Linked DNA regions of Homo sapiens: all the other regions are linked to region 1. The links are contacts of gene promoters, found by promoter capture Hi-C in blood cells and fetal thymus (Javierre and others, 2016). All regions are on one chromosome and are shown on one strand. The core of a region is centred on a gene start or on the middle of the fragment in contact, and the rest is flanking DNA. Distances in the headings are between cores, read along the strand shown. Region 1 holds the start of IL2RB-AS1 (IL2RB and C1QTNF6 antisense RNA 1). Region 2 overlaps CIMIP4 (ciliary microtubule inner protein 4). Region 3 holds the start of CIMIP4 (ciliary microtubule inner protein 4). Region 4 overlaps LOC105373024 (a long non-coding RNA gene). Region 5 holds the start of LOC112268295 (a long non-coding RNA gene).

Region 1 (5,936 bases), core at 2,995-5,494:
CCCTCCCCACCCAAAAAAAAGAGCGTGAGTCCTAGAATTTGGGAGGTAGTAAAATCCACCCTCATCCATAATATCGGAAGTTCCACAGGCTGGCAGGATCATCCCACCACGTGCCCAGCTTCCAACCACAGAAAGGCGCTCCCAGAATTTTGCAGGATTTCTTTGGATTTGCTTCATGTTTATCTTTGAGATTGCTTCATCTCTTTGGAGATCAGCAGTAAAGTCTTAAAGGCAGCAGGAATCTGTGTGTTTGCGGAGACAATGAGGAAAGGAACTGAGGGAAGTGTGTGTGGCCCGTGCAGTGAGGCTGGGAGGCCATGAGCCACGTCAAGCAGTGACTGCGTGGTGGAGAACCCCAAATGTGGCACCCTTGGGACTGAGAGGTGGCCAGAAGGGGCAAGTCGACTCCCATGATGCCTCCACAGAGAGGGATGGAGGCTTGGGTTCTAGACTGTCCACCCCCAAGAGGCCACGCCTGTCATTACCCCAGCCCCTGGGTGGCGCTGCTTCCCCTGTGGCAGACACGCATCTCTCCACGGCTGGGGGCAGCGGGGACAGTGCAGAGTCTGCCCCCGCTGCTGGCCTAGCTTGTCCATCCCTGTCTATGAGGAGCTGTTGCTCTTCTCAGCTGCTCTCCTGTTAGGTCTTGGGACCTGCACCTTCTGTGATGTCAGCTGCTAAAACACACCCCATCTCTTCTGCAAAACAGGTAGCTCATTTCACCCCCAACCTTGGCAAACACCAAACTTCCTGCAGCTGCTTTGGTTTTCTTCAGGGCCTTTCTGCTGTGTTCTGGCCTTCCTGAAAGAGTCTTATTATTCTGTCCATCCACATCCACTGTCTGTCCATCCGTCTGTCTGTTCATCCCTTCATCCATCCATCCATCCATCCATCCATCCATCCATCCATCCATTCTTCCTTCCTTCTCCCCCATCCTTCCTTCCTTCTCCCCCATCATTCCTTCTCTCCCTCCATCATTCCCTCCATGATCCCCCCATTCATCCTTCTTCTGTTCATCCATCAGTCCATTTTCCATTCACCCATTAACCACCCTTCTATCCACATCACAATGACTAAGCACCTCCTATGCTCCAGGCACATACCAGGCAGCATAAAGAAATGCAGAATGAATGGGATTCAGTTCCTGCCCTTGGGGAGCACCCACTTTAGTTGGGGAGAGAAGGAAGGCCTCTGGCAGGTACCTAACCCCATCAGAAAGCAAGGGTAAAGGCCTGGGAGGCTTCACGGAGGATGTGAACCCGGGGCCTGAAGGATGATGAGTCCGCGGGATAAGAAGGCAAAGGAAGGATGCCACATGCAGGGCAGGGAGGGGGCAAACCCTGGGAGGAGGGGGAGGCATGCAAGCGATTCTGCGTTCTGTGTGGCCAGAGGATTGGATGCAAAGGGGGATCTTCAAGAGGGGGCCCAGTTAGGGACAGCCTTGAAGCCAGACTCAGGATGCTTGGATAGGGTCTTGAGGGCAGTGGGGAGCCCCTGAAGAGTTGTGTGCAAGGATGCTCTGGATGCAGAGTGAAGGATGACATGGCAGCGTCCCGCTAACAAATATGAACCCCTCTGTAAACAGAACCCCTGTGTAAGCAAGAACCCTCTGTAAACAGAATCCCTCTGTAAACAGAACCCCTGTGTAAGCAAGAACCCCTCTGTAAACAAGAACCCCTCTGTAAACGTGTAAACAAGAACCCCTCTGTAAACAGAATCCATCTGTAAGCAAGAACCCCTCTGTAAACAGAACCCCTCTGTAAGCAAGAACCCCTCTGAAAACAGGAACCCCTCTGTAAACAGAACCCCTCTGTAAGTAAGAACCCCTCTCTGTAAGCAAGAACCCCTCTGTAAACAGAATCCATCTGTAAGCAAGAACCCCTCTGAAAACAAGAATCCTTCTGTAAACAGAACCCCTCTGTAAGCAAGAACCCCTCTGAAAACAAGAACCCTTCTGTAAACAGAACTCCTCTGTAAACAAGAACCCCTCTGTAAACAGCATCCCTCTGTAAACAAGGACCCCTCTGTAAGCGAGAACCCCTCTGTAAGCAATAACCCCTCTGTAAACAGCATCCCTCTGTAAACAGAACCCCTCTGTAAGCAAGAACCCCTCTGTAAGCAGAACCCCTATATAAGCAGTGCCCCTCTGGCACTGGGCGTGGAGGGAAGGAGATGGAGCTGGGGAAATATTAGGCTCTGGTGATAATTGTTGTTCCCCAACTGCCTTCAGCCACCTAGTCTGTGCCTTGGCTCTTGCAGCTCCCTCTGTCTTGGGCCCTTTCTCTCGACCCATTCCGGCCTATGGAACACTCATCCCCATCCTCCCAGAGAAGAGGAAGAACCCAGCCTTCCTCAGGTGCCTCCTGCATGCCAGGAACTGTGGGTGATGGCTTCTCTGTGTGCACAATCTCATGCCATCCCCATGAACCTAAGAGGTGGGGAGTAGTCGCATGTTTCAGATGCAGAAACAGGCTCAGAGAGGTAAAGGAACTTATCCAAGATCACACAGCTAGGAAGTGGCCAAGGTGGGATGGGGACCCAGCCCTCACTGCCTTTGCACAATGACCCACTGCCCACAGCACCGATGCCACATCCTCTGGAGCCTCCCCTATGGCTCCAGCCAAGCCACGTTCTATTTTTGGGTTTGTGTTTTTGTGTTTTGTCATTTGCAGGCGTTTCAAACTGGGCACGCTCTATGCCTCTCATACTCATTATGACCACATTTTCTAAAGACAAAACTGCACAGACAGCCTGAAAAAGTATTTTTTCTGTCTTGTTACTTTCTTTAATAACGTCTTAGCCAGTTTAGAATCAAATCACATGTATTTACTCTTCTCACGTGATACCAGGACTGTTCTGAAAGTTCAGGCCAAGGGTCACCACATTGACACGATTTCCTTAGTTATAATCATTTGCATACTTGTCCTACCTCCATACCAAGAGAAGGTACTCTGAGTTAGAGTTCAAATCCCACACATCCTTGTCATTCCCACAGTGCCCAGCATGCTGCTGCCAGCAGGTGCTCAGTAAATCCTTACTGAACTCATGCAAAGGGGACAGACGCCACCTCAGCCCAACACCAAGATTGTCCTCCCTCCCTCCCGCACCCCTTCCCTTCCTCCCTTGCTTCCCATCTTTCAATAAATGCAGTTTGAATGCATTTGTCACACAAAGCTTTAGGCTCAGAGAAGCTGTGGGACTCCATGCACTTCACCTGTGGCCTTGAGGCACCGCAGTCCAGCCAGGAAGACAGACACCAGGCAAATCCTCCCACCTATGCCCAGTCAATTAGGAATATGAGCACCTGATCCAGTGATGGGCAGGGCAGCATCCACTTTAGATGCACGGGGTGCTGGGAAAGCTGCCCTGAGAAAGTGACCGCAGGCTGAGGCCTGGGGCAGAGAGAACGTGGGCAGGGGCTCGAGGCAGGGAAGAGCTTGGAGACTTCCAGGAACTGCCAGACAGCCAGGGGCAGTGGGGCAAGGGAGAGAAGAAGCCAGAGAGGCCGCAGGCCTGGGCTTTCCATGGCGAGGAGGCCTGGATACTGCATAAGTGCAGCAGGAAATGTTGGGTGGGGTCGGATTTTCACTTTACAAGGGCAGTCGCTGGGGCAGAGGGCATGGGACTCAGGGAGGGACTCAGGAGGCAGAGAGATGGTGGGACGAGACTGAGGGTGCCGGCTGGGGCTGGGGGTAGAGGACTGTGAGCGCTTGGCACTTGGAGGCAGTCAGAGCTGGTCTGGGCAGGGGTGCTGTCACCCAGGGCCGAGGAAAGGGATACAGGAGGGGCAGAGGGTGGGTCGGAGGCTGTCCTGGGAACCCTAAACGTGGGGGCCAGGAGAAGGAGGTGCTCCCGTTTCTGATCTGTACCAATTAAGGGGAAGGTGAGAAATTGCTTGGGTGGAGTGTCCTTCTCTGAGTCTGGGGGTTAGGTGGGATGAGGGGACCTCGGAGGCTGGAGGCCAGAGTTCACACTCCTGCCCTGCTGTGTGACCTAAGGCTGAGAGCTGCCTCTCTCTGGGCCCAGATGCATCATTACCTATTCAGCAAGCAGCTGGGCCTGAGAGCCTCCGAGATCCCTTGCAGGTCTGCTGGTCTCGGCTGCCTTTCCTTGGTCTGCCCTCATGCTGTCTTCCCAGAAGCCAGGGGCCCAGTTTGCTTCCCCTGCTTGTCCTGTGGGCACTTGCGACTCCCGGGGAGGCAGCAGACACGGTCCAGCGTGGTCACGCTCCTGGCCGCGACTTCACCTCCCTCCTGCAGCACAAGTCTCGAGGAGGCTGGGGAGGTGCGCGCACTGCCCTCTGGTGGCAACTTCTGGGCCCACCTGTCATTGTGCCCTGCTGTTTTCTAACTCAATTATTCTTGAAGGGATGATTGAGCGCCTTTTGCATGCAAAGTCCCGAGGTAGGCATGAAGTAGTTGGGCAGTCCAGATGGGGGAGAAGGTGTCGTGGATGTGGAGCCCAGGGTGTCACTCTACGCGCTCCCGATCCCTCCCAAGGCCTAGGCGTCCTCCCTCCACCGCGGGAACGGAGCAGGGGTGGCACAGAACTCTGGTGGCTGCAATGAGGGTTCAACGGTTGAATGCGTGGAGTGCATCTTAGCTTCACTTCTGGCCCAGGAAGCGCAGGCTCCGTGTACAACACACGCAGCGGTGCAGTGCCTTCAAAGGGGGCGTGTGGCTGTGTGTGTGGATGTGCCAGTTTTGGGCTTCCTCTCGGCAGGAGGTGGGGGGGCGGGGAGGCTCTGGCGCTGAGTGCCCCCTTTCCATTGCGGTCCTTTGGTGCAGTTGAGGGTCCCCCCAGTAGCAGGGGCATTTCCAAGGAGCCAGGACTTCAAGGGCCTAAGGCTGGAGGGGCCCTGTCCAGTGCAACAGAGAGACCTTGAGCATGGGCGGTGAGGTCACCTCTCCTGGCCCAGCTATCAGCTGAGCTGGATGTGCATGGCTCAGGTTTGCACAAAGGAGGCCCACCTGTTCACAGGAGTTCTGGAAAGAACACACCTGTGGCAAAGACACACACACGTGCACACCAGACAGGCCATGATCTCGCTCCCCTGGCGAGGAATGACTTCCTTGCCGTAGGGAGAATTCAGGGGAGTCTGGCCCTCTTGAGGAGATGCTGTAGAGGGGAGTTGTGGACGGTTGGATTCAGGATGTTTTCAGCTCCAAGTGTCTGCTTTAGGCCGGTCTGCACCTGTGTCCTCCCCGCCTCTGTCCTTCTGGCACTTGCCCTGGGTAGGCCTGGCTCAAAGCCCTCTTCTCCCCTCCTCCCCCAACCCCACAAACAATAATAAAATTAAATTAAATTAAATTAAATTAAATTTTTAAAAAAAGCCCTCTTCTCCATGAAGCCTGCCCTGAAGAGGCAGCTGCCCAGGAGCATCTGCACATCTCATACAAACTTTAGCTGTGATTATATTGCATTCGTTCCCATGCCTATTTCCTGTCCCTGCAGCTAAACTCTGGGCTCCTTGAGGGCTGGGTGGAGTCTTGGGCATCTTTTGTGGCTGCTATAACTCCCAGCCCTGAGCCAGGATAATACAGACGCTTGACAAACGCTCCATGCTGACTGGCAGGTGTTCCTACCTTCCATGCCTGGGAAAATCATGATTCAGACTCTCCCTGGAGAGGCCACGGTCAGAGAAACATTAGGAAGGACAGAGTGGGTTCTGGAAGGCCAGAGGCACACGGCCAGAGCAGGCACAGATGCGGCCAGCCATAGCTCAAATTCTCATGGCTCTCTTCTTCCAAAGGTGGCGGCAGCCTGGTAGTTAGGAGCATGTGCTTAGGAGCCAGATGGCCCAGGCCCACATCCCATCTCTGACACTTATCACCTACCTGTGTGCGGCCCTGGGCGAGTTATTTAACCTCCCCGTGCCTCAGTTTTTTCATCTGCAAAATAGGATAAGAGTCCTAGTCTGCAAGTGCTGTTGTCAG
Region 2 (5,936 bases), core at 1,253-3,752, 180 kb after region 1:
TTTACCATCCGTAGAGGAAACTGACACCCAATATAAGCCATGGAGTACCCGACTGCCACTGAATTGGGCACTTGGGGTTTCTTCATGGTATTCTACAGGGGCTGCTGAGGAGACAAAGAGCCTCATGAAGGCTTCTTACACACCAGAGGTCATTGAGAAATCAGTGAGGGACTTAGAACACTGGCATGGCAGGAAGACGGATGATCTGGGTAAGTGAGGAGCTGCGGGTGATGGGAGGCAGGGACTGTCCTCCACCAGCAGGGTGTGTTGGCTCTAAGGGTCAGAGAGAAACCAGAGCAGGAGACAGAGCCGGGGTGGACTTGGAAGAGGTACGAGTCATCCCTGGGGTCTGGGCAACTCCAGAGACTGCCAGATGATCTAATCTGTGCTGGCTCTTCTCCTGCTCGCTGTAGGGCGGTGGCACCAGAAAAATGCTATGAACCTGAACTTGCAGAAAGCACTGGAAGAGAAATATGGAGAAAACAGCAAATCCAAGAGCTCCAAGTACTAGTTTTGACACAGTAGAGGTGTCTTCTACTCAAATAAAGTGCTAACAATAAGGAAAGGCTCAGGTCCGAGTCCTCCTGTGCTTGGTGCCTTTCTTCACACTGGAGTAGAGGCCGATATGTGGTGTTGGAGAGACCAACTGGGGGAAGATAGAAGCCCTGGGGTCCCAAACTATTCCCTAGTCCTCCCTCCTGCACACACATGCACACACACGTACCTTCATCCATTATCCCAGGAAAGGACATGAGAGCTGGGCATGACTCTGTCTCAAGCCCAGGGTGCCTGGCTTCTCCCACATGCCCTATGTGAGGGGGTCCTATAGTGGACACTGCTGGATCTTACCCTACATGCTCTTCCTAGAAGATGCCAATTATTCCCAGACATCCATTCCTCCCCCACGAGACACGGACTTCAGAGGAGTTGGCCACACACATTTCCTCCAATCTAGTGGCGGGTTTGATTGGTCTCATGGTGATTCTTTACCCCTACCCCAACCCCACCTCTTGCACGTGATTGGTTCAGTCATGCACATATGACTCAATTTGGGCCAATAAGATGCAAGGAAACGTGTGGATGCGTGCAGCCTTCTGGGAAATTCTTTTCTCAGCTGGGAATGCTGAGAGAGCATCCATCTTTCCTGATGTAATGAATGAGGAACCATGCAGCCCAGACCACTCCTGCCAGACACCTATGACCAGAGGAATTGCAGACCATGCAGCACATTCTGGGTCCTCCATGGCCTCGCAGAGCTGCTCCATCAACTTGGCCAGAAGCTGCCGGCCTCTGGACTTCCTGTAATGTGAGCCTGAGGTCTCCTCATTGTTTAAGGAGCCAAAAGCATCCTCAGACCATAGGGGCTTGGAGCCCCAGGGAAGAGTCCCCAGATAATGGGTTCTAGGTCAGACGGTTCTGTTTTCCAGTTGATCCTGAAGCTTTTCACCTGATGAGTCTCTAAGCCCGCAGCACACTCCACCCCGAGATCACTGACTTGCACCCTCAGACCGTGCTCTACCCATGGGTTATTTATTATTTGCTGTGTTCCAAAACACCACCAAAACTTGTGGGCTTAAAATGACATGATCCTTAATTTGCTCATGATTGAGCAATTTAGGCAGGGCTCAGGAGGTACGGCTCATTTCTGTTCTGTATAGCATCTGCTGTGAAGACGCCTGCTCCTCTCCCATGCCTAGTGCCTCAGCTGGGATGAGAACCACAGTGGGGGGCTGGCTGATCATCACTCTCTCTCATGGGACCTCTCTTCGTGGCTCACTTGAGCTTCTTTTGGAATGGGGACTAGGTTTCAAGAAGGAGCCGTCTCAGGGGACAAGATTCAATGTGCAATGGTTTATCAAGCCTTGCACTGGCTTGTCAATGTCCCTGTGGCCAAAGAGACATATGGCCAAGCCCAGACTTTGTGAGAGGGGACTACATAAGAGTATTACTGTATGCAGGAATGGTTCATTGGCGACCTCAAAATAATAGTTTGTCCTGGTGGTCATCTTGCTTTTGAAAGATCAAAAGCGAGAGGAAGAATCAAAATCACTACTGGGAGAAGAGGAGACATGTTCCTACTTCTCCCTCAACTGCCCCTCCTCCCACAAAAGGGAATGACTTACTTACTTTTTTTTCTTTGTCTTTTCTTTTTTTTTTTTTTTTGAGATGGAATCTGGCTCTGTTGTCCAGGCTGGAGTGCAGTGGTGTGATCTTGGCTCACTGTAACCTCCGCCTTCTGGGTTCAAGCTATTCTCCTGCCTCAGCCTCCCGAGTAGCTGGGATTACAGGAGTGCACCACCATGACCAGCTAATTTTTGTATTTTTAGTAGAGATGAGGTTTCACCATGTTGGCCAGGCTGGTCTTGAACTCCTGAGCTCAAGTGATCCACCCGCCTCAGCCTCCCAAAGTGCTGGGATTATAGGCGTGAGCCACCACGCCCGTCCAGGAATGACTTAAAGGTAGGGTTGGATCAGAATGCAATACAGGGAAGTGAATCTGACTTGATTTAATATTCATCAAATATCTAATTATGTGCAAAGTGCAGAGTTCAGTTCAACTTCTTTACTGGGTACCTAGTTTCTGCAAGACACTGTTCTGGGCACTGGAAACACTAGACTTTGTCTTCATCAACTACTATGTGCCCATCACATGTGACACCTGAAAAAATGAGCCACCCAAAGTCTTGTGGCTAAAGCAGACTCTGTGCTGTTCTGACATAGAAATGATAACGTGGCAAATGATTATGTGCCACATGGTTTATATACGGAACTGTATTTCATCCTTACACCAGTCCTCAGAGCTGTTATCACTCCCTTTATGAAGATGAGGAAACTGAGGCTTGGAGAGGCCAAGGAAATTGTACAAGATTATATGCATAGGAAGCTGGGGGTGCAAACCCAGGAATTTCTATCCAAAGTCACTTCTACTCTACCAGGCAATCGTACTGCAGTGTACGTAGTATGACAGTGCAGTGCCTAACAGGGCTGAGTGTTTGTGGTGCCTGTTGACGGAGCACCACAAACACTCAGCCCTATTAGGCACGGTGAAAACAGCAATATGAATGCAATACAATATGCAATATGCATATGCAATATGCAATACAGTCCAGACCTCAGAGCTTTGCAGTCTGCAGGAGATTGATGTGGAAGAAGCTGCCTTAGAGACTTATCTACCCATGATATGCCCCTGCCCAGCCCTGACCAATGAGCTGGACGTGCAAAAATAAATAAGACATGGCGCCTGTCCTCAAAGAGTTCAGAGTCTGGCGAGAAGACAAATACATCAGTACATAGATGCTCAGAAGTCTTACACATGCGGTGAGACGTTCACGTGGGGCCAGCAAAAGCACAAAGGAGAACGTGGTTAGCTCTGCCTGGGATGGGGTAGGGTGCCGGTCATATGGTAGGCTTCATAGAGGAGGTGGCTCTTGAGATGAATCATGGAACATGAATAAGGATGTTCAGGTGGACTGGAAGAGGCACAGCATTCCAGACAGAGGGCATGGTATGCATGAAACTGCAGCATGATGTATTTGGCAAGCTGCAGGTAGCTTGTTAAGCTTGGAAGGTAGGGCTCCAAGGAGGAACACAGAGGTGAGGTAGGAAACAGAGAGTCTATGCCTGGACCGGGCTGTCCTCTGTGAGGGCCTTACATTTGAGACTCAGACCTTCCTTCTAGGAATTTACAGTCTGGCTGGAACATAAAGAGTTAATGACTAAAGAAGCCACACGGAAGAGTTGAAAAGATGCTCATTATCCCCAATAATCAGAGATGCAAATGAAAACAATCCATCAGGTTGGCAAGAATTAAAACGCAAGTGTAGATGAGAATGAGGGAAATGGAAACTTTCGTACCCTTGATGAATTATGAGCCAAGAGCCGTGGGTGAGTATTTAGCAAAATTGAAATTATATCATACAACCTACAATTTCCATTTCTACACAGCCTAGACAAACCCTTGAACATGTATATAGGGAGTGCGTGCAAAGATCTCCATTGCAGCATAGTTTACAATAGGAAAACAACCTGGCAAGTATTAAAAGTTCTTGTTCTCAGCTGGGTGCAGTGGCTCATGCTTGTAATCCCAGCACTTTGGGAAGCTGAGGTGGGCACATCGTTTGTGGTCAGTGGTTTGAGAATAGCCTGGCCAATGTGGTGAAACCGTGTCTCTACTAAAAATTCAAAAAAATTAGCCAGACATGGTGGCAGGTGCCTGTAGTCCCAGCTACTTGGAGGCTGAGGCAGGAGAATCACTTGAACCCAGGAGGCGGAGGTTGCAGTGAGCCAAGATCGTGCCACTGGACTCCAGCCTGGGCAACTGAGTGAGACACCATCTCAAAAAAAAAAAAAAAAAAGTAAAACAACCTAAATGCACTTTAGCTGGACAATGGACAAATGGGATGATCTATGGCAGTGGAAAGAAATGAACCACATCTGCATGTATCAGCATAGGAAGATCTCACAATACATCATTGCGGGTGAAAATGACAATCTGCAGAACGACCCCTACAGCAGGAAATGTACTGTTGATGTAGCCTTCAAAAGGGACACACAAAACCAGTCCATTGCTTATGGGTATGAGTATGGAAGGTGAATGGGAAGGATGCCACAGAAATCCAACTTCACATTACATTTAATTTAGTGCTTTTCAGAAGCAGCTTTACAAGACAGAGCTGCCAAAATGCTTTCTGATGAGATAACTAAGATGCTAGCAAGAGTGTCTGAGAAACACAGTGTTGGTGAGCTGATCTAAAGTTAAGTGAGCAATTTCAATGTTGACATAAGGGAACAAATGTCTCATGTTTTATGACTTTGTCTCAGTTAAAGATTCATCCTCAGAAAGAGGAACCCTTTTTAATTAAACATTGAATGTTCTAGAGAGAGAAAAGCTGTAATCTTGGCAAAGTAAATAAAATATGCGTAGATTTTTTTTAACTTAAAGAAGGTCTTTTATTTCACTGGCGTGGTTCCCAATAGCATTCCTTGTTCTTCATGTTCCTGAGGTCCCTAGATAGCGGAATTCACAATGATTCTTAACTTTCAAGGAGGCACAGGGGCCAGGTAGTACGTAAGCATTAATTCATATAGTGAAAAAAATTGGTCACACTTCAATTCATGCAGGGCCTCATTTGCCCATTGTGACTCAAAACCATCTTCATAATTTCTGTAATATCCGTGTACCACTCAAGGGAACACCAATAAAATCAATTTAGGTTGCTTTAACCCAGGATACAGTAGATGAGCCTGCCATGGCTATAATCCCAGTCCAGATCGCCCCCTGGTGGCAGTATGTCCAAATTGCAGGCCCAGAGATTCGGAATCATAAGCCCACAATGTACATGCTGTGGAGGGACAGAGAGACCATTTAGTTACATCTTTCTAACCGTGCTTTCCTACTCCCACTCCAGTTCTATGTTATAGATGAGGAAACTGAGGCCACATTGAACACATTTATGCTTAAATTGCAAGAGAGGAGTTTATGTTGCCTGCTTTGCAAATCCAAACTCTCAATGATGTCAGAGTGGTAGGCTGATCTTTTTCCCATTCTCCCTCCCAGAATCATGGACTCTGTAATAAACAGGAACTAGAAGGAGCCACAGCAGAGGAAAATTCAAATGCAGGTTTGCTGTAGAAAGGCAACAAGAGACTCTAGCTAGGCTCGTGTTCTTGGGAAGACCACCTCGCTTGTCAGAGCCAGTTCTCATTTCTAGAGTACTAACAGAGGGACAGTTCCACCTCTTTCAGAGGCTATTGTGAAGATTACCTGAGAAAATGCATGCCATGTATCTGGCACAGAGCCAGTTATAGACACGCAATAAACACTTATGCTTTTCCTTCCTCAAGGCCCTGTTTCCTAAATATGTTTAAAAGAACTCTGTGGCATGTTAACAGATGTTCTATGAAAAATTATCCCATTGTCAAATAAATCAGGTTAT
Region 3 (5,936 bases), core at 944-3,443, 160 kb after region 1:
TCTGAGGTAACAGAGCCCTGTGTATAGTGATCACCATGGCAACTCCAATGAACATCTTGGGGAGGGCCACTTCCCAGCAACCATCCATTGGTCTTCACCAGTAGTTCTGCAGTGGGGATCTGCACTTCTGGGCTTCAGCACACATCAGTGTGGTTCACGTGTTTCCTGCTGTTATGAAAGAGATTGGAGAGGTGAGGCAGAGACTTATGAAGGGCCAGGGTTCTTCCAGGACATGGGGTTTCATCTTCCTTCTCCCCATTCAGAGTTGCTTGTGAGTGAAGACTGCCTAGACTGGACTTACCTTCCCGCCCTCTTTGACCAAAGTCTCTTGGGATCTCTCTCTCTGGGTCAGAAACTGGAAGTGAGTCCACACTTCCATTGTAGCCCGTCCAGACTGCTGTGGACTGGCAGTGCACTGGGACGTACAGAGCTGCCGTGGGCACGTCAGGTTGGTGGCTGGGGATAGGAGGAGAAAGAAAACTTGGAGCTAACTTGAACTTCACCTAGCTTGAAGATGTGCAATTTAATTTTAGCCCCACCTGGTGAAGTCCTGTGTCTTTTCGGAGCCTCATTTTCTCCATCTGTGAAAGAAGATAAATTAGTAGTGTCTCCGAACACCTTACTGGGTATTTGTGAAGACCAGACTAATTTACCAGATGTGAGAATGCTTGACATGGACTTGTGTTAGTTATCTCTTGCTGCACAACAAATCACCCCAAAACTTAGTGGGCTTAAGACAACATTTACTATCTCACAGTTTCTGTGAGTTGGGAATACCGGTGGAGTGTTGGTGATTTTTCTGTCCCAGGGTCTCTCACAGGCTGCAATCAAGGTGTTGCTTGGGTCTCTAGTCTCATCTCAAAGCTCGACCAGAGAAGGAACCCATTCACATGGCAGGATCCAGCTACTCTGGAGCTGTTGGCAAGAGGCCACTCTGAGTTCCTTGCCCTGTGGACCTCTCCATAGGGCATCTCACAACAGGGAAACTGGCTTCTGTCAGAGAAGATGAGCTGAGGAGAGCTGCAGAGAGTGTGTGAAAAAGACAGAAGTTGTAGTCTCTTATAAGTTCATCATGGATGCAACATCCCTCATTTTTGCCACATTCCATTCATCACTATGTCCAGTCCACACCAAAGGGGAGAGAATTATACCAAGAAACAGGGATCATTGGGAGCCATGTCAACTGCCTGCCACTCTCTGCCCTCTGGCCCCCAATAATGTACATCCCTTCCACATGCAAAATATAGTCATCCCCTCCTAAGATCTTTAAAATTCTCATCCTATTAAAGCATCAGTTTAAAAGCTAGAATCTGGTCATATAAATCAGCTCCAGGTGTGGCTGAGGCTCCTCCAGTGTCGTTCCTTAAGTACAGCTTCTCAGATTCAATTCTTCCCCATCATAGATCTGTGAAACTAAGTAATTTGCCCTGAACACACCTAACATACAGTGATGTGATAGGCATAGGATAAGAACTAGTGACATTCCTATTCAAAATTGAGGAAAATGGAGACATGGAGTCAATGTTCCATAGCGGTTTTGAAATCCAGCCACACAAATGTTGGACATTCCTTGATTAGGTTTCAAGGCCTGGGGATAATTCTCCATGGCTCTCAGCTCTGCCTTCTGGACTCTTGCATCCACTCTCTGACTTGTCTTTTTTATTTTTATTTTTTGTTCAATGGTATCTTTTCATTTTGTACTGTCTCTATCCCTTTTACCCGAAGTTGCCAACATTTTGCTGATGTTATTTTCTCAACAGTAAAACTTACAGGGGTTCACTCCATTGAACAAAAGTCACACCCCTTTTTAACTGAGGCTCCTGTTGAGGAGCCTTAAGCTTCCTAGAGGTCCTATGGTTCTGTTAAGAGGATATATCAGGCATCTCTTTAATCTCTTTAAAGCACCCTTTGTTTGACAGAGTAATACCCTCATCCTTTGATCTTTCTGAAGTTTTAACAACAGGTCGCACAGTCACACTCCTGGGCACACTTTCCAGACAGCCTTCTGAAGCTATTTCTTAATTTTAGCATCTTTTGGGATCTGGAAAGGATGAGACTTCAGAACCATTAAGTACTGGCATCTTTTTGTTTAACAGTCCCTTCTTCAATTCATCACCTTCCTCTCACATTTCACTACAAGCAGCAAGAAGAAAGTAAGAGGCAACTACCATCTTTTCTTTGGAACTCTTTAGCTAAATCATTCAGTTCATTAGTCACATAACTGCAGATGACAGTGTCACTGTTTCTGCCACTACATAACAAGGGTCTTTCTTCCACTATTTCTAGTAATATATTCCTCACTTCCATTTGGGCCCTCACTCACTGCATCTTCCAACTCCAGATTTCTGCTTAAAAAAAAAAAAAAACTGTTTAAGGTGATTTAGGCTTTTTCTATCATGCTTCTCAAAATCCTTATAGACTCTGACCACCGCTTGGTTCCAAGTTCAGTCCCAAATTTTTAAGTATTTGTTATAGCAACACCCCACTGTTAGTACCAAAATATGTATTAGCTATGTATTGCTGCGTAACAAATGACCATAAAGCTTAGAAGTTTGACACTGTATGTTTAAAACAGTACAAATTTATGATCTCAGAACTTATAGGAGTCAGGATGCTCACTTGGCTGGGTCCTCTGGCCCAGGGTATCCCACAGGCTGTAATGAAAGTGTCATCCAGGCTGTGTTCTCATATCAAGGCTCAACTGGGGAAGGATCCACTTTCAAGCTCATTCAGGTGTCAGGATTCATTCAGTTCTTCAAAGACTGTTGGACTCAGGGCTTCTATTCTTTATGAGCTTTTGGCCAGAAGTCACCCTCAGTTTCTTGCTCCATGGGCTGCTCCACAGGGCAGCTCAAAACACGGCATTTGCTGTCATCAGAATGAGCAAACCAAGGAGAACCAGGGAAAGAGAGCAAACAAAACCGAAGTCACAGGCCGGGCACGGTGGCTCACACCTGTAATCCCAGCACTTTGGGAGGCTGAGGCGGGTGGATCACTTGAGGCCAGGAGTTAGAGATCAGCCTGGCCAACATGGTGAAACCCTGTCTCTACTAAAAATACAAAAATTAGCCAGATGTGGTGGTGCACACCTGTAATCCCAGCTACTCAGGAGGCTGAGGTGGGAGAATTGCTTGAACTTGGGAGGTGGAGGTTGCAGTGAGCTGAGATTGCACTACTGTACTCCAGCCTGGGTGACAGAGTAAGACCCTGTCTCAAAAAAAAAAAAGAAAGATCACATAAGAAAACAAAACACAAGCACGAAAGCTGCAGAGGCTTTTGAATCTACCCCTCTAATTTGAATCCAAGGCCTTAGAGAGAAGACTGAGTTTACACCAGAGCAAAGTGTGGGTTCCTGCTCTTGGTTCTCCTTCGTGGTGGCTAAGCTGCTTCCCTTCCCTGAGCACGAACGACCATTCAGCAAATGGATACAATCCTATTTGCAGGAAGACAAATGGTTGCCAGGATGGGAGCCGGGGCAATGGGCTTCACAGCCAGGGGCCTGCTAGGGTCTCCTAGGGTGGTGGTGATGGGGCAGAAGAGGAGGAGGAGATGAAAGGAAAAATTATGAAGGAGTAAAATGAGCCCAGGGTTCCAAGGCTGCTTGAGATAGGTCTTTGAGGACTGGTGGGGTGGGGTGGGGGTGGCCAGGGCTTTTCAGAGAGGGCAGAGGCTGCAGAAGTCCAGGAGGCAGCCCCTGTGCCAGGGGTGATGAGTGAATGGGGCAGAGGCTCCGTGGGTCTGGGCAGTGCCAGAGGGCACCAGGGGCAGCTTAGGAACCTCTGATCAGGGGCGGGCAGACAGCCACAGGCCTTCCTGTTCAGCTCCCAGCTCATCCTTGTTCACAGAAACTCTGTGTGTTATCTGAGACGATGAAACGTGGTGCTTTGTTTACAGGACTAAGCTTGGAATTGCCTGTCCCACAGCAAGAGGCTATGGAGCTGGGCCACGGAGCAGGTAGGACAGGCAGACCAGGGATGTGCTGAATGCACATCCAGGCTTCTGGAGGGACTCCCTGGGGCAGCAGGGCACCGGCCCTTTCTCCTCCCGCTCCGTCTTGTGTTGGCCTCCAGACCCACCATCGGCCCAGGCTTCCTAGGGGGGCATTCTGTTGGAAGACAGAAGGAAAAAGGAGGGAACGGAATTACTGAGCCCTCCCATCCTGCCATGTGCAGGGATTATCACCCCGATATGGTCTCCATCCTGAGGGGGTGACTCAGGTGCTCTGAGTCTTGTGTGTACCAGAAGGGCAGGGCTGTGGGGGAACATGGTGAGGGGCCTGGCCTCAATGGATGGGAGGTATATATGGGGTTACACGTGAGCCAAGAGCAGGGGTAGTGTAGCCCAAGGAGTGGAGGGGAGTGTTCCAGGCAGGAGAAATAGCTCAGGCAAAGGCTTGGGAGGGAGAGACGGCTGGCACTTTTGTGGAGTCCCGAGAGCAGGCACTCTGCCCTGAGGACAAGAGGAAAGATTTTGATGCAGGCGTGACTGAGTCAGGCCCGCTCTGAGAATGGTCCCCAGGGGTGAGTGCAGGTTGGCTGGGGCTGGCAGGTGGGATGGGGAGAAGAGAGTCCAGTGAGTTGGGGCAGCGATCCTGCTAAAATCTTCCTCCAATGACCTGAATGCCCAGGGGCTTGTTAAACACTCAGATTCAGGGCCTTTCTGATGCAGCAGCTCTGAGAGGGTCCCAGGCATCTGTATTTTTAATGAGAGCCTAGGGAATCCTCATACATGGCCACATTTAGATAAACTCTGCGGAGGTTTATCATCCAGGGGATATGATGGTTTAGCTTGGGCTCAGAGGCCTGACGGCCAAGATGCCCAGCCCTTATGTATCTTTTAAGAGGACTTGAAGTTTTGGAGGGAAGACCACCAAACATATTTACAGCTGTAATCTGGGGTGGAGGATGAGGCCAGGCTGTGAGGAGACACTGAAGGCTGAGAGCAAGAGACCTAGAGAAGCGGAGGCTGTGGGCAGGGACGTGGGAGACAGGGAGAGGCGGGGAGGAGAGAGCCTGGGAGGTGGCTGGGATGGTGCCACTTCTCAGCCCTGGCGAAGGGAGGAGGTAGGTATTGGGGAGCAGTCTTGCATTGGAAGCAAAGTCTGGAAGTCCCATCCAACTCCAGTACTTCCCAGGCATGTGGCTTAGCCCCAGGAACGCCTCTGCCAGTGCCGCTGCTGCCAGATTCTCACTGCGGAGAGTGAGGGGGAGGTTTCAAGATGGAAAAGTGGGGAAGGGAACTATCCAAATGGAGCCAGGGACATGAAAGCACAGACAGGCCAAGTCCCTTGCTTGCGGTCACACAGCTAGGCCTCAAGGCGGGACAGGCTTAGGCGGCAGCCCTTGTTGCCCCAGGCAATGTGGACTAACCCTGCCCGTGGGAGGCACGCAGGCTGGCCTCTCTTCTCCCATTGTGTCTCCTAATTTCCCACCCATGCCTCTGGTTCCTGCGCTTCCTCTCCGTCCCTCTCCCCTTCTCTGGCTGTGGAGCTCTGGGGCTCTTTGTCTGTCCGTTTCCCCTCCTCACCCCCATCTCTGCCCCCTCCCCACCCTCTACTTTCTGCCCTTGTCTGCGTGTCTCTCTCCCTCCCCCTCTGTTTCTCTTTGTCCTGCTCAGGTACAACCACTTTCACCAGGGCCCATCTGAATGACAAGGAGGGCCAACAGGACTTGGACCCCTGGAAAGCGGCCTACAGTTCCTTGGACACCTCCAAGTTCAAGAACCAGGGTCTGTCATCCCCACAGCCCCTGCCCCTGGGAGCCAGCGCTCAAGGCAGCTCCCTAGGGCAGTGCCACTTGAAGGAGATTCCCCCTCCACCCCCGACTGCTGCCAGCAGGGATTCTCTGGGCATGGACCCACAGTCCAGGTCCCTGAAGAATGCGGGCTCTCGATCCTCCTCGAGAGAGAACAGGGCCACCTCGGGAGAGGGGGCTCAG
Region 4 (5,936 bases), core at 2,495-4,994, 160 kb before region 1:
GTCCAGGTGAGAAAACCGAGGCGTAGAGGCTTCATCGTTGCCCCATTATTGCAGGGATGGGCAAAGCTTTTCTGGAAAAGGCTACATAGTAAATATTTTTGACTTTACGAGCCATGCTTCTTGGTCAAAACTATTCAACGGTGCCACCGTAGAGGGAAAGCAGCCATAGACAGTACCAGAAATAAGTGGGTGTGGCTGTATTTTAATTAAAAAAGTGGATGAACATGGAAATTCAAATTTCATATAATTTTCACATGTCAGGAATTTTTTTTTTTATCTTCAGAAATAGAAAAAACCTAGCCGGGTGCAGTGGCTCATGTCTGTAATCCCAGCACTTTGGGAGGCCGAGGAGGGTGGATCACCTGAGGTCAGGAGGTTGAGACCAGCCTGGCCAATATGGTGAAACCCCATCTGTACTGAAAATACAAAAAAATTAGCCGGGTGTGGTGGCCCGTGCCTGTAGTCCCAGCTGCTTGGGAGGCTGAGGCAGGAAACTTGTTTGAACCCAGGAGGGAGGGGCTGCAGTGAGCCGAGATCGCACCACTGCACTCCAGCCTGGGCAACAAGAGCGAAAACTCCATCTAAAAAAAAAAAAAAAAAAAAAAAAAAAAAAAGAAAGAAAGAAAAAGAAAAAGAGAAAAAAAAGAAAAAAAAACATGCTTGGTTTCTGGTTGTACCATAACAGTTTGACAGGATTTGGCCTAGGGGCTGTAGTTTGCCCACCCCTTGGGGGATGGTTGGGAGGTGGCAGAGCTGGGGTTCAAACTAGGTTCTGCGAGCCCACGGGCTTCTGGACCAGATCAGCTCCAAGTGTGTGCCGGACCTCAGCCCCCTGGTCTTTCCCTTTCGGGTTGGTTCTCCCATCTTGGGATGCACAGAGCATCCTGCTTCTACGCTGCCCATTTTGGGCAGGAGGCAGTGTGCCGGGCAGGCCAGGGGATCTGAATCCCCCAACTCGGAAAAGGGTCCCCGCCCAGCCACTTGCCAGCTTGGAAGACTGGAAACCTCTCTAGGCCTCAGTTTCCCCACCTGTAAAGTGGGGCATAGCAGATAACTCACCCGCAGGGTCGCCGTGAGGCTGCAGTGAGAATATACCTTGAAACGTCTCCCCACCCCGCGGCTGCCTCAGTTTCCCTCCTCCCCTCCTTGCCTCTGAGCCTGGTCTACACCTGCGCCGCGGCCTCTCCCACCTCCCCCACCGCCGTCCCCCTCCTTAATGCGGAGAACGACATCCTGGGTGTCTCCCAGCTGCCTCCTGCGCACGGACGGTTTCTCGAAAGCTTTTAAAAACGAGGCTCCCTCCCGGCGGCGGCAGGGAGGGTGGGAAGGGGGGCGCCCACCCTCGGGAGCTTCCCCGGTGGGCGGCGGCGGCCGCTCCCAGCCTTTTCGGGAGATCTCTGGCTGATTATTATGGAAATCAGGCCCCAGCAGCGCGCCCGGGTGGCGCGGGAGCGGGAGGCGCTTGGTGCGGCTGAGACGCGCTGAGGACCCGCTCTGCCAGCCAAAGGAGCGGTGCGGGGGAGGGGGCGTGGGAGCTTCCCGCGCTCCTGGGACACGCGTGGCCTGTTCTGGCCCGGGTGCCCGGGTGACACTGTTCCCGCGCAGGGCCGATGGGCTGAGCTGCAGCCGGAGGGGCTGGGGTCGCGCACGGAAACCTGGGCGCCCAAGTCTGGGAGTTCATTTCCGCCGGGACCTGGGCCCTTGATATCAGCGGTGCTGGATATTTTCAGTGCAATTAAAGGCAAAGGCAGTGGGGTTCACGCCACCACCCCAGGAACAGAACTGGGGCGTGTAATGAGCTCAAGCCCTGTGTACTGGGCGCGTGTACTCGGCGTCCAGCACCGACCTCAGGGCGCTGATCTATTTAAATCCTTCCGTTGACTTGGGCATGGTCAGGCCCATTTTATGGATGAGACAACAGAGACCCAGAGAGGCAAAGCTCACACGGCCAAAGCAGTCGAGGAGAGACCTGAGCTGGGAGTTGTCCAACTCCTCTGGCCAGTTCTTACACCTTCGGTCATCCTGTCTCCAACCTGAGGATGATGCCTTTGACCTTCCAGCCGCGCATCCAGCTCTGGCCTGCCCTGTGCCTCTCTGCGGGGGGACTCTGCAAATGGGGAGAGAGACAGCGTGGCTAATGTCGAGGAGAGCTGAGGGTGGTGGGTTGTCCTGGTGCTGAGGGGCTCTTGGTTTCTGACTATGCCTTCTATCACCACCACAGGGTTTGAGTTGAGCCAGGATCCCCCACCCCCACCACCCCTCAAGGTGCAGGAAATCTCATCATTCAAAATCCATTTCCTTTATATTGTCACATTCTGGAGAAGGGCTCCAATCTAAGCTTAAAAGTGATAGAGAAAATAAAAATGGGAAAGTCAGATGGATTCGGCCACTTTGTAAGCCAGAAAAATGGCCCCAGCAGACAGGTGAGCAACAGCTTTGGAAAAATCTCTAGCAATCAAGAACGGCCATGGGGGTTTATCTTTGCTCTGTAATGATCCCAGGCAGACGGAGAGGAAAGGCAGAGAAACCTGCAGGTGAATGGGCAAAGGGCAGGAGCGATGATTCACACTAGAAAGGAAACACAAATGCTTAACCCTCACAGGGAGAAAGTCCATTCCCACTCAGATATGAAAGGAATACAAATGTTAATCAATGCAGTTCCATTCAAACTCACAAATATTTTAAAACATAAAGTTATTTAATTTACCGCTGAATAACTGTAACTATTTTTAACTGAACTCATGGTTACCCTGGTAGTCCATCCTCCCAACTGCTCCAATTCACAGATAGGAACCTAGGCTAAGAGAGGCTAATTGCATAATTTGCTCCAGGTTAGACCTCTGGTGAGTAGCTGAGCAGGGTCACCTGTTCGGTGGCAAAGTGGTGGCATCTGGCCGGGCGCGGTGGCTCATGCCTGTAATCCCAGCACTTTGGGAGGCTGAGGCAGGTGGATGACCTGAGGTCGGGAGTTCAAGACCAGCCTGACCTATATGGAGAAACCCGGTCTCTACTAAAAATACAAACTTAGCCAGGTGTGGTGGCACACGCCTGTAATCCCAGCTATTCAGGAGGCTGAGGCAGGAGAATCGCTTGAACCCGGGAGCTGGAGTTTGCAGTGAGCCGAGATTGCACCACTGCACTCCAGTCTGGGCAACAGAGCGAGACTCCATCAAAACAAACAAACAAACAAACAACAAAAAAACCCACAAACAAACCACACACACAAAAACGCAAAGGTTAGGCTTCATCCCAGCCCCCGTGGATCAGAAACTCTGGCGCTAGGGACCAGCAATCTGTTTTAAGGAGCTCTCCAGGTGAGCTGGAGGCTACAATTAGAGAATGACTGCTCTGGGCTCCAGGAGAAGGTAAGGAAAGCAGGTACGTGCTTTCGCTGCAGAAGGCAAATTGTATTGTTTCAACCTTTTTGAATTACCTATGGATAACAGGTATTGTGAGCCTGTAAACGGCCACCAATGGCACCTCTGAGAAGCCACTGAGAAGTAGACATGGTTTTATCCATGGAGGTATTTAAGACAATGTATTTATAAACATGGAATACTGGAAACAGTCTGAGTCTCCAGCAATAGGGGACTGGGGAGAGAAACCTTGGTTCATCTAAAAGATGGCTGCTGTGCAGTTTTGAAAAGTGAGTGTGTAAAGACCGCACAACGTGGTACAATAGGAGCAGACAAGTCCTCCTGGGTTGCCCAGGACTTTCCCAATTTTAGCACAAGAAGGCCGGCATTTTGGAAAACTCCTTGGTCCTGAGAAAATGGGGACAATTGGTCACCCTAGCTATAATCGGCACTAGTGCCACACCCCAAGTATTACTGTCCTCCCATGTTGCATGGCCGGTGGTAGGATGGTATTTCATCTGGCCTTGCAGTGAGGTAGCTATGTGACATGTTTTGGCCAATGCAATGTGAGCGGAAGTGGCATGTCACATCCAGACAGCGCTCCTGGCAATTCATGCCAGGATGGCACCTCCTCAGCCTAGGTCCCTGAGTGACTATGATAAGCAGAGACTCCATGCCGATCCCTACCCTGCAATCCCAGGGCATAGGGTGTGAGCAAGACATAACCTCTTGTGGTGTGTGAAGCCACTGAGATTTGGGGATATTTGTTGCCACAGTGTAACCTAACCTGTCCTGGCTGGTATACACGTGGACATCCGGATTTCATAGTTTTAAGGCTTAAGTGTTAGGCCGGGCATGGTGCCTCACACCTGCAATCTCAGTACTTTGGGAAGGCCGAGGCGTGCAGATCACTTGAGGTCAGGAGTTCGAGACCAGCCTGGGCAACATGGTGAAACCCCGCCTCTACTAAAAATACAAAAATTAGCCGGGTGTGGTGGTGCATGCCTGTAATCCCAGCTACTCGGGAGGCTGAGGCAGGAGAATCGCTTGAACCTGGGAGGAGGAGGTTGCAGTGAGCTGAGATTGTGCCACTGCACTCTAGCCTCAGGGACAGAGCGAGAATCTGTCTCCAGAAAAAAAAAAAAAATTGGCTTAAGGTTACAAAACTGCATTTGCAGTATCATTGCAGAGACATAACAGGTGTGTTGGAAATATTCTGAAATGTTTACAAAATTATCAGGTAGAGGAATTCTTGGTCTAGGTTTTTTTTTAACTTTTAGGATTGGGATACATGTGCAGGTTTGTTATATAGATAAACTGCCATGTGAGTTTGGTATACGGATAATTTTGTCACCCAGGTAATAAGCATAATACCCACCAGGTATTTTTTTCTAATCCTCTCCGTCCTCCCACTGTCCACCCTCCAGAAGGCCCCAGTGTCTGTTGTCCCTCTCCTAGTATTCATGTGTCCTCATTATTTAGCTTCCACTTATACGTGAGAACATGCGGTATTTGGTTTTCTGCTCCTGTCTATGTTCGTTTGCTTAGGATAATGGCCTCCAGCTCTAGCCGTGTTGCAACAGAGGACATGATCTCATTTGTTTTTTGGTCTAAGTTTTTCTTCCTCTTCATTGCGCTTTCCAATTTTCTGCAATGAGCATGTTTTATTAATTTTTAAATGGGGGACATTTTCTGAAAAAATCATTTCTTTGGATCAAAGGTTGGTCCCCTCTGGGCTCTTATTTATGAACTGAAAATCCCTTGGGGGAGGGAGAAAGAGAAGAGTTAAGCTTTAGCCTCAAAGGATCACAGGGACTGGAAAGGTCACAGAATTAATCCTGCCCTTCTGCTGGAGCCTTCTAGCTGGTGGCTCCTCCTGGCCTTAGCAATTGGATCAGATGCCTGTTCCTGGTCGTGTGACTCTGGGCAAGTCACAAGCTCTCTGAGCCTCCACGTCCTCATCTGTTAAATGGGAATAATCCTGTTTACCTTGTGGGCTCCTGGGAGGATCAGATGAGATGAAGTATGTTCTACAAATGCCGGCGCCTTCTGCCTCGGTCTTCTTCATGGAGCCTCCGTGCTGGGTGACTTAGGGCGTGTGCCTGAATGTCTGTGACCTTTGATTTCATCATGGAAGAACAGGCAGGGTGCTTTTTTAGGCCAGGGCATTTCTGGATGGGGCTGGAGGCCCCCGTACAGAAGCTGAGAGGGATGGAAAAGGAGAGGGCTTGTAGGCCTTGGTGTTCAGCAGCCGAACAAAAACTTTGAGCCTGGCAACCCCAGACCACGAAGCCAGCCCACCAAAAGCCAAATGGTGAAACCTCTGGAGTCTTAAAGTAGCCCCGGGGACAGGGGTGGTCAGGGAGGGCTTCCTGCAGGAGGAGAGCTGGCAGGATGGCATGGACAGCCCCCATTGCCTTCCATGGTTCTGTCCTGTTCAGAGTCCTTGAACTCAGCCCTCTCGAGGGAGACTCCATCAAGAATATAACAGTGACAGCTAATATCTGCTGACGGCGTGCAGTAGACCAGGTTTACCCAATCCAGTGTCAGTCCACACGGTGCCACTTTGGGGTAGGACTT
Region 5 (5,936 bases), core at 1,615-4,114, 130 kb after region 1:
CCAGCTAATCTATGTTTTTGAAGAGACAGGGTCTTCACTTGTTGCCCAGGCTGATCTCAAATTCCTGGCCTCAAGCAATCCTCCTGCCCGGGACTCCCAAAGTGCTGTGATTACAAGCATGAGCCACCGTGCCTGTCCTTGCTTTTACTTTGAAGTCAATCAGGCAGCATAAAAAAAAAAAAAGTTCTGGAGAGGTCAGGCGCGGTGGCTCACACCTGTAATCCCAGCACTTTGGGAGGCTGAGGCAGGTGGATCACAAGGTCAAGAGATCGAGACCATCCTGGCCCACATGGTGAAACCCCGTCTCTACTGAAAATTCAAAAATTAGCTGGGCGTAGTGGCAGGTGCCTGTGGTCCCAGCTACTCGGCAGGCTGAGGCAGGAGAATCACTTGAACCCGGGAGGTGGAGGTTGCAGTGAGCTGAGATTGTGCCACCGCACTCCAGTCTGGTGATAGAGCTAGACTCCGTCTCAAAAAAAAAAAAAAAAAAGTCCCGGAGAAACATATCAAAGAGCACACAGCTAGCCAGACAAGTAAATTAGCCTTTGGTTGCCCTGTTCCTCACTTGTGTACAAAGGTGTGAACGTGCATGTGTTTGTGTGCGTGTGCATACACACCTATGTGTTTTAAGGGGTGTATGACACCTCCCCACCCAGAGAGAAGCCTGCTCCCTCTTCTGTGATCCCCTCCCCAATTCTGTCTTGTAGTGGACAAAAGCCTTGTGGTCATTCTGTCTAGGATTCAGAGCCCAGCCCCAGATCTAACCTCTCCTGTCATCTTGGGCAAGTCACTTGACTTTTTTTTTTTTTTTTTTTTTTTGAGGCAAAGTTGCCCAGGCTGGAGTGCAGTGGCGCGATCCCAGCTCACTGCAACCTCCGCCTCCTGGGTTCAAGTGATTCTCCTACCTCAGCCTCCCAAATAGCTGGGATTACAGGCACCCACCACCACGTCCAGCTAATGTTTTGTATTTTTAGTAGAGACGGGGTTTGACTATGTTGGCCAGGCTGTCACGAACTCCTGACCTCAATCACCTGACTTATGGAGGATAATAACACCTGTTTCTCGGAGTGGTTAGAGTAAATGGAGGCAAAGCACTTAGCATCCTCTCTGGCACATGGAAACAGTAAACAGGAGGGGTTATTAAGGTGCCTCTCAGCCCTGAGAGTGTACTTGTGTAATATTAAACATTCATTGGCCCCTGCAGAGACAAAGGGAAAGCTTCCCTTTCTCCTCGTGAAGGCTCGCTGAAAATCAACAGACAAAAGGAAGATTAATTGGAGAAAAGACAAAATTTATTTCAACGTGCAGAGCATGAGGGAATCACAGAAGTTACCCAATAACCCAGTGGGGTACAGGTGCATGCGCCCTTCTTCACGGGGGAAGGAGAGATGGGGGACACGTGGCAATTTGAAGGACAGTCAATGGTTTTTAGGGGGGAAATGAATGAGTCCAGCGTCCAGATGATAATTAATAATTTCTTTGGACATTGAAAGGGAAAGAGAGCAGATAATGGTTTGGGATGAAGTTTATCTGGGCTGTAGGTGTGGTGTTTAATGTTCAGTCTCATATCCTCTAGGATATGAGTTTTAACCTCTAGCTAATGATATTCCAGGGAAGGTAATTGTGTTCCCCTTTGGCAGGTCCCGTTTCTAGGCAGATAAAGAAACTTCAGAGAACAGCGTCATCCTGCACTTTGAGAGAGACAGAGGATTCAGAGAAGGAGGCAGGGAGGTCAGATAGACCTTGAGGCTGCTTCATGTCAGAGCGCCATATTTTAGGGCAATGCTTTCTGAGCCCCTAACCCCCCATCCATGTCAGTTGCTGTGCTGGTACCAGGACAAGAAACATGAATAAGATACGTTACCCCTCAAGGTTTTACAGCCCAGCCAAGGGAGGCAGGCAGGGCAGGTGCAGGACAGGAGAGCAGTAACAGTAACAATACAACATGGTGGTCGGGCACAGTGGCTCAGGCCTGTAATCCCAGCACTTTGAGAGGCCAAGGCAGGCAGAACACTTGAGGTCAGGAGTTTGAGACCAGCCTGACCAACATGGTGAAACCCCGTCTCTACTAAAAATACAAAAATCAGCCAGGTGTGGTGGTGGGCACCTGTAATCCCAGCTACTCCAGAGGCTGAGGCACAAGAATCGCTTGAAACTGGGAGGTGGAGGTTGCAGTGAGCTGAGATCTTGCCATTGCACTTCAGCCTGGGTGACAGAGCGAGACTCCATCTTAAAACAAACAACAAACAAACAAACAAGCCCGTGGATTTGGTGCTTATGAGGTCAGCTTCTGCTCTCAGTGCTATGTATGAACCAAATCACTTCATCCTCACAGCAATCCTATAAAGTGGATTATTGCCACGTCTCAGATGAGGAAATCCAGGCCCCTCTGCCCACACTCACGGCCAGGGAGTTGGAGGTCAGGGTGCTCCGGAGGCTGCCCTTTGAACCGTCCCCTGCTGCAGCTCTCCCTGGAGCAAGAGGGCACAGTCCAGGGAATTCATAAAAGGGACTATGCGTGGGTGTGGAGGTGCCTCTCAGACCCAGAACCAGCCCCCCAACCCATGGCGGTTCTCTGTGTTTCCACTTCTCAGATACTCCTCGCCACGCTGTTGCCAGGATCCATGTCTGTCCCTCCCCATGGGGCGAATGCCCCCTCTCAGGGCTGGTCTTTATCCTCCATGCCCCCAGATCCTGCCACAGGGCCTGTCCCTAGGAAGTACCCTGGAATGAATGGAGGAGACAGGCTGAGTGCTGGGTGCGGGCTGAGTGGGGGACTTGGACAAAGGCAATGGGAGTAGAGGTGGAGGTCTGACCGGCTGTAGGTAAGTGGGACAGAGTCTCAGATCACTTGCTGCCAGGTGTGGGCCTGGGTGACCCACAAGTGGTGACCGTGCACACTGAGACAGGGGACACAGGTGGAGGAGCAGGCTTGGGGCTGGGAGGCCATGACTCAGGGATCTGAGTTCAGGAGGAATCGAGTTGCGGGAGGCCCCGATTCCAGAGTCACTGGCTCAGCACAGTCGTTGAAACCATCCGAATGGCAGCATTATCTAGAGAGCGGGCCCGCCTCGAAGCAGGCCGAGGGAGACTCCAGAGAACACAGACGGGAAACCAGAAGGGCAGTCAGCTAGGATTCAGTATCGAGGACCTGAAGACCTCAACATCCTGACAGTTGAGGGGCAAGGAGCCCCTGCAGGTATCGCTGTGCAATCAAGGGATCAAACAAAGCCCCCAGAAGTTCAGGCAAGATCAGCCTACCAAGTTCCACCCCTAGTAGGTTAATAGGCAAAAAATTTAGGTGCTTAAAATAACACTTTCCGTTAACCTGAATATTTCAACATTTCATCTTCCCCCAAGTGATTCATCCTCCATGAGTTAAGGATAATAAAGCTCCATTGTGCTTATAGAGCTGAGGTTATTCCAGTAGGTGTGACACCTGACTTCATTTTGAGCCTTACCTGATGTGACATCACACCCACACTGGGCATGGCAGAACTGAGTTTGCTCCCATTTTTCAGATGAGAAGACTGAGGCCCCAACAGGAAGGCTCTGGAACGCAGACCTTCTGGGGCCTTGTGCAAAGCTGATTCCACAGCACCAGGACCAGATCGCTGCATGGATCCATATTCAGCCCACTGTGTGGATGGGGGCTTTGATCTCTGGAGGCAATGACCCAGGAAGTGGAAAACATTCCAGGGCAGCTGGTTAGGCAAGGTTGGGAAACGCATTTCCAACTGTTCCTGACACAGAGGGGGCGCCGAGCAAATATTTGCCAAGTGGATAAAAATTTCATCATTCTTGTTGCTCAGTGTTGCAAGTTCCTGCCTCGAACACACAGGTTGGGTAGGGCGGGCCCTGGCAGAGGCCAGGATCCTGCAGTCAGTGGTTAATTATTCTAAGAGTTCAGGCTTGCAGGAGGCGGGACGGAGCTGGGCGGAGGGTGCGTGTCTAGTTCATTCCTAACAAACTCCTGCAAAGTTAAACTGAAGCTCTGTAGTCCTAGAAAGGTGCGGCTAGATCGCCCACCTCTAGGCAGGTCACCTCCGAGCCTGTCCAGACCCAAGGAGGACCTTCCCAGGAGAAAAAAGCCCGGGCTGGAATCAGCCTTGGTTTCCTTGCTGCAGGTTGGACTAGGGTAGGGGAAGGGCGCCTAACCCAAACCCATTGGTTAAATTCCACTGCTCAAGGTTTCCCTGTGGAGCTGAGAAACACGTGGCCATCTTCCCTGAGCTTCTCATGCGTTTCTGTTCTCACCTTGATCCTGGAATCTGGAAAACCATGGCAGGCAAGATCCGCTGGAGAAACTCCTCCCCTGGAGAATTCTAACTCCAGTTAGGTTCCTCTAGCAAACTAGCTGTGTGCCCTGAGGCAAATCACTGAACCTCTCTGAGCTTGTTTTCCCACCTGTAAAATTAGTCTGTTGTGAAATAGATCATTTCACAGCACCCCCTTCTCTCTGGAAATGTACTCTAAAAGACTAGTTTCTCCTCCCTAGTTTGGAAGCTTTGAGAGGGCTGGGACACAATTCTATTTGTCACTCTCTCTCCTCCAATGCCGGAAGTGCAGAAGGCACTTAACATGCTGAATAAGTAAAACTCCTTTAAAACTAATGGGAAGAAACCCTTGGTGTTTACTCTGCACCAAGCAAAACAGTTTCTGTGGATTATCTCATGTAATCCTCATACTGCTCAGGAAGGTACTTCTTTTTTTGAGATACGATCTTGCTCTGTTTCCCAGGCTGGAGTGCGGTGGTGTCATCACAGCTCACTGCAGCCTTGACCTCCCAGGCTCAAGCGATCTTTGCACTTCAGCCTCCCAAGTAGCTGTGACTACAGGCACATGCCACTCTGCCCGGCTCATCTTTTTTCTTATTTTTGCCTACAGATGAGGTCTCACTATGTTGTCCAGGCTGGTCTTGAACTCCTGAGTTCAAGTGATCCTCCCACCTATGCCTCCCAAAGTGTTGAGGTTACAGGCGTGAGCCACCGTGCTGGCCAGGAAGGTACTATTTTGCCCGTTTTACAGGTGAAGAAACGGGTCTGGGCGCTGTGGCTCACGCCTGTAATCCCAACACTTTGGGAGGCCGAGGAAGGTGGATCACGAGGGCAGGAGTTTGAGACCAGCCTGGCCAACATGGTGAAACCCTGTCTCTACTAAAAATACAAAAATTAGCCGGGCGTGATGGTGAGTGCCTGTAATCCCAGCTACTCAGGAGGCTGAGGTAGGAGAATCGCTTGAACCCGCGAGGCAGAGGTTTCAGGGAGCCGAGATCGTGCCATTGCACTCCAGCCCGCGCAACAGAGCAAGACTCTTATCTCGGGGTGGGGGGGAAAAAAGAAACGGAAGCCTGCAGAGGCTGGGCAGCATGTTCGAGGTCAGGCTGCCTTGTGTGGAGTGGTTGGGACTGGAAGCTGGATCAGAACCTCACATGTTTGCAGACAAACTTGTCTCCTCAAAGTGGCAGAGCCATTCCAGGAAGGAAAACTAAAGCTTGTCTGAGACCGGCCAGAAAGGGGGGAGTGTCTAAACTGCCTCACTTCCACTTCTGGGAGAAGGTGCTTATGATGGGGAGTCGGGGAGCCCCTCCATGTTGGGGTTCCCTGTCTACACTGTTCCTGACTGCAGTGGTCAATTGTGTTATTTGCCCCTAGGGCAGTGGTTCTTGACTGGGGGTGATTTTTGCCCCCCAGGGGACATCCGGCCACATCTGGAGACTTTCAGTTGTCATAACTGGGCAGTGTTACTGGCATCTAGTGGGCAGAGGCCAGAAACGCGGCCAAGCATCCCCCAGCACACAGGACGGCCCCCATGACAAGGAATCATTCAGTGTAAATGTCAGCAGCACTGAGGCTGAGAACCCCCGGTGTGGAAAACGGGGACTCTGCAGTGGACTCTTGGAAGGGCTCTCATCTGAGTTTCTTCTTCGGAAGTAC

The links. The method cuts DNA at HindIII sites, captures the fragments that hold promoters and counts their contacts. A CHiCAGO score of 5 or more calls a contact.
Region 2: a contact is called between a fragment that was not itself captured here and the fragment with the promoter of IL2RB-AS1 in region 1, in 2 of 17 cell types (M2 macrophages and M1 macrophages). The highest score is 6.4, in M2 macrophages.
Region 3: a contact is called between a fragment that was not itself captured here and the fragment with the promoter of IL2RB-AS1 in region 1, in 2 of 17 cell types (M2 macrophages and M1 macrophages). The highest score is 5.5, in M2 macrophages.
Region 4: a contact is called between a fragment that was not itself captured here and the fragment with the promoter of IL2RB-AS1 in region 1, in 1 of 17 cell types (neutrophils). The highest score is 5.1, in neutrophils.
Region 5: a fragment that was not itself captured here is called in contact with the fragment with the promoter of IL2RB-AS1 in region 1 in 2 of 17 cell types (endothelial precursors and activated CD4 T cells); the score reaches 5.4 in endothelial precursors.

The regions. Positions count from the first base shown.
Region 1 is chr22:37,165,067-37,171,002 of GRCh38, reverse strand. IL2RB-AS1 (IL2RB and C1QTNF6 antisense RNA 1) reads right to left here and starts at 4,244. Exons shown (of 2, transcript NR_199008.1): 1 at 4,039-4,244. It also overlaps a transcript of IL2RB not described here. RefSeq lists enhancers at 2,650-2,709, 4,024-4,073. The HindIII fragment of the contact is 5,870 bases long and covers 3,177-5,936 here.
Region 2 is chr22:36,985,754-36,991,689 of GRCh38, reverse strand. It overlaps CIMIP4 (ciliary microtubule inner protein 4), which reads left to right. Exons shown (of 6, transcript NM_001163857.2): 5 at 99-209; 6 at 414-565. The coding sequence ends at 511. Among named protein-coding and RNA genes, the nearest start is that of CIMIP4, 19 kb to the left of the region's middle. The HindIII fragment of the contact is 2,121 bases long and covers 1,442-3,562 here.
Region 3 is chr22:37,001,984-37,007,919 of GRCh38, reverse strand. It overlaps CIMIP4 (ciliary microtubule inner protein 4), which reads left to right and starts at 69. Exons shown (of 6, transcript NM_001163857.2): 1 at 69-191; 2 at 3,895-3,954; 3 at 5,617-5,936. The coding sequence starts at 3,933. The HindIII fragment of the contact is 705 bases long and covers 1,841-2,545 here.
Region 4 is chr22:37,320,432-37,326,367 of GRCh38, reverse strand. The region is part of intron 1 of LOC105373024 (a long non-coding RNA gene); the gene reads left to right. Among named protein-coding and RNA genes, the nearest start is that of CYTH4, 41 kb to the right of the region's middle. The HindIII fragment of the contact is 2,808 bases long and covers 2,341-5,148 here.
Region 5 is chr22:37,030,852-37,036,787 of GRCh38, reverse strand. LOC112268295 (a long non-coding RNA gene) reads right to left here and starts at 4,739. Exons shown (of 2, transcript XR_002958751.1): 1 at 3,462-4,739; 2 at 1,275-2,229. RefSeq lists enhancers at 2,709-3,374, 3,467-3,984. The HindIII fragment of the contact is 3,288 bases long and covers 1,221-4,508 here.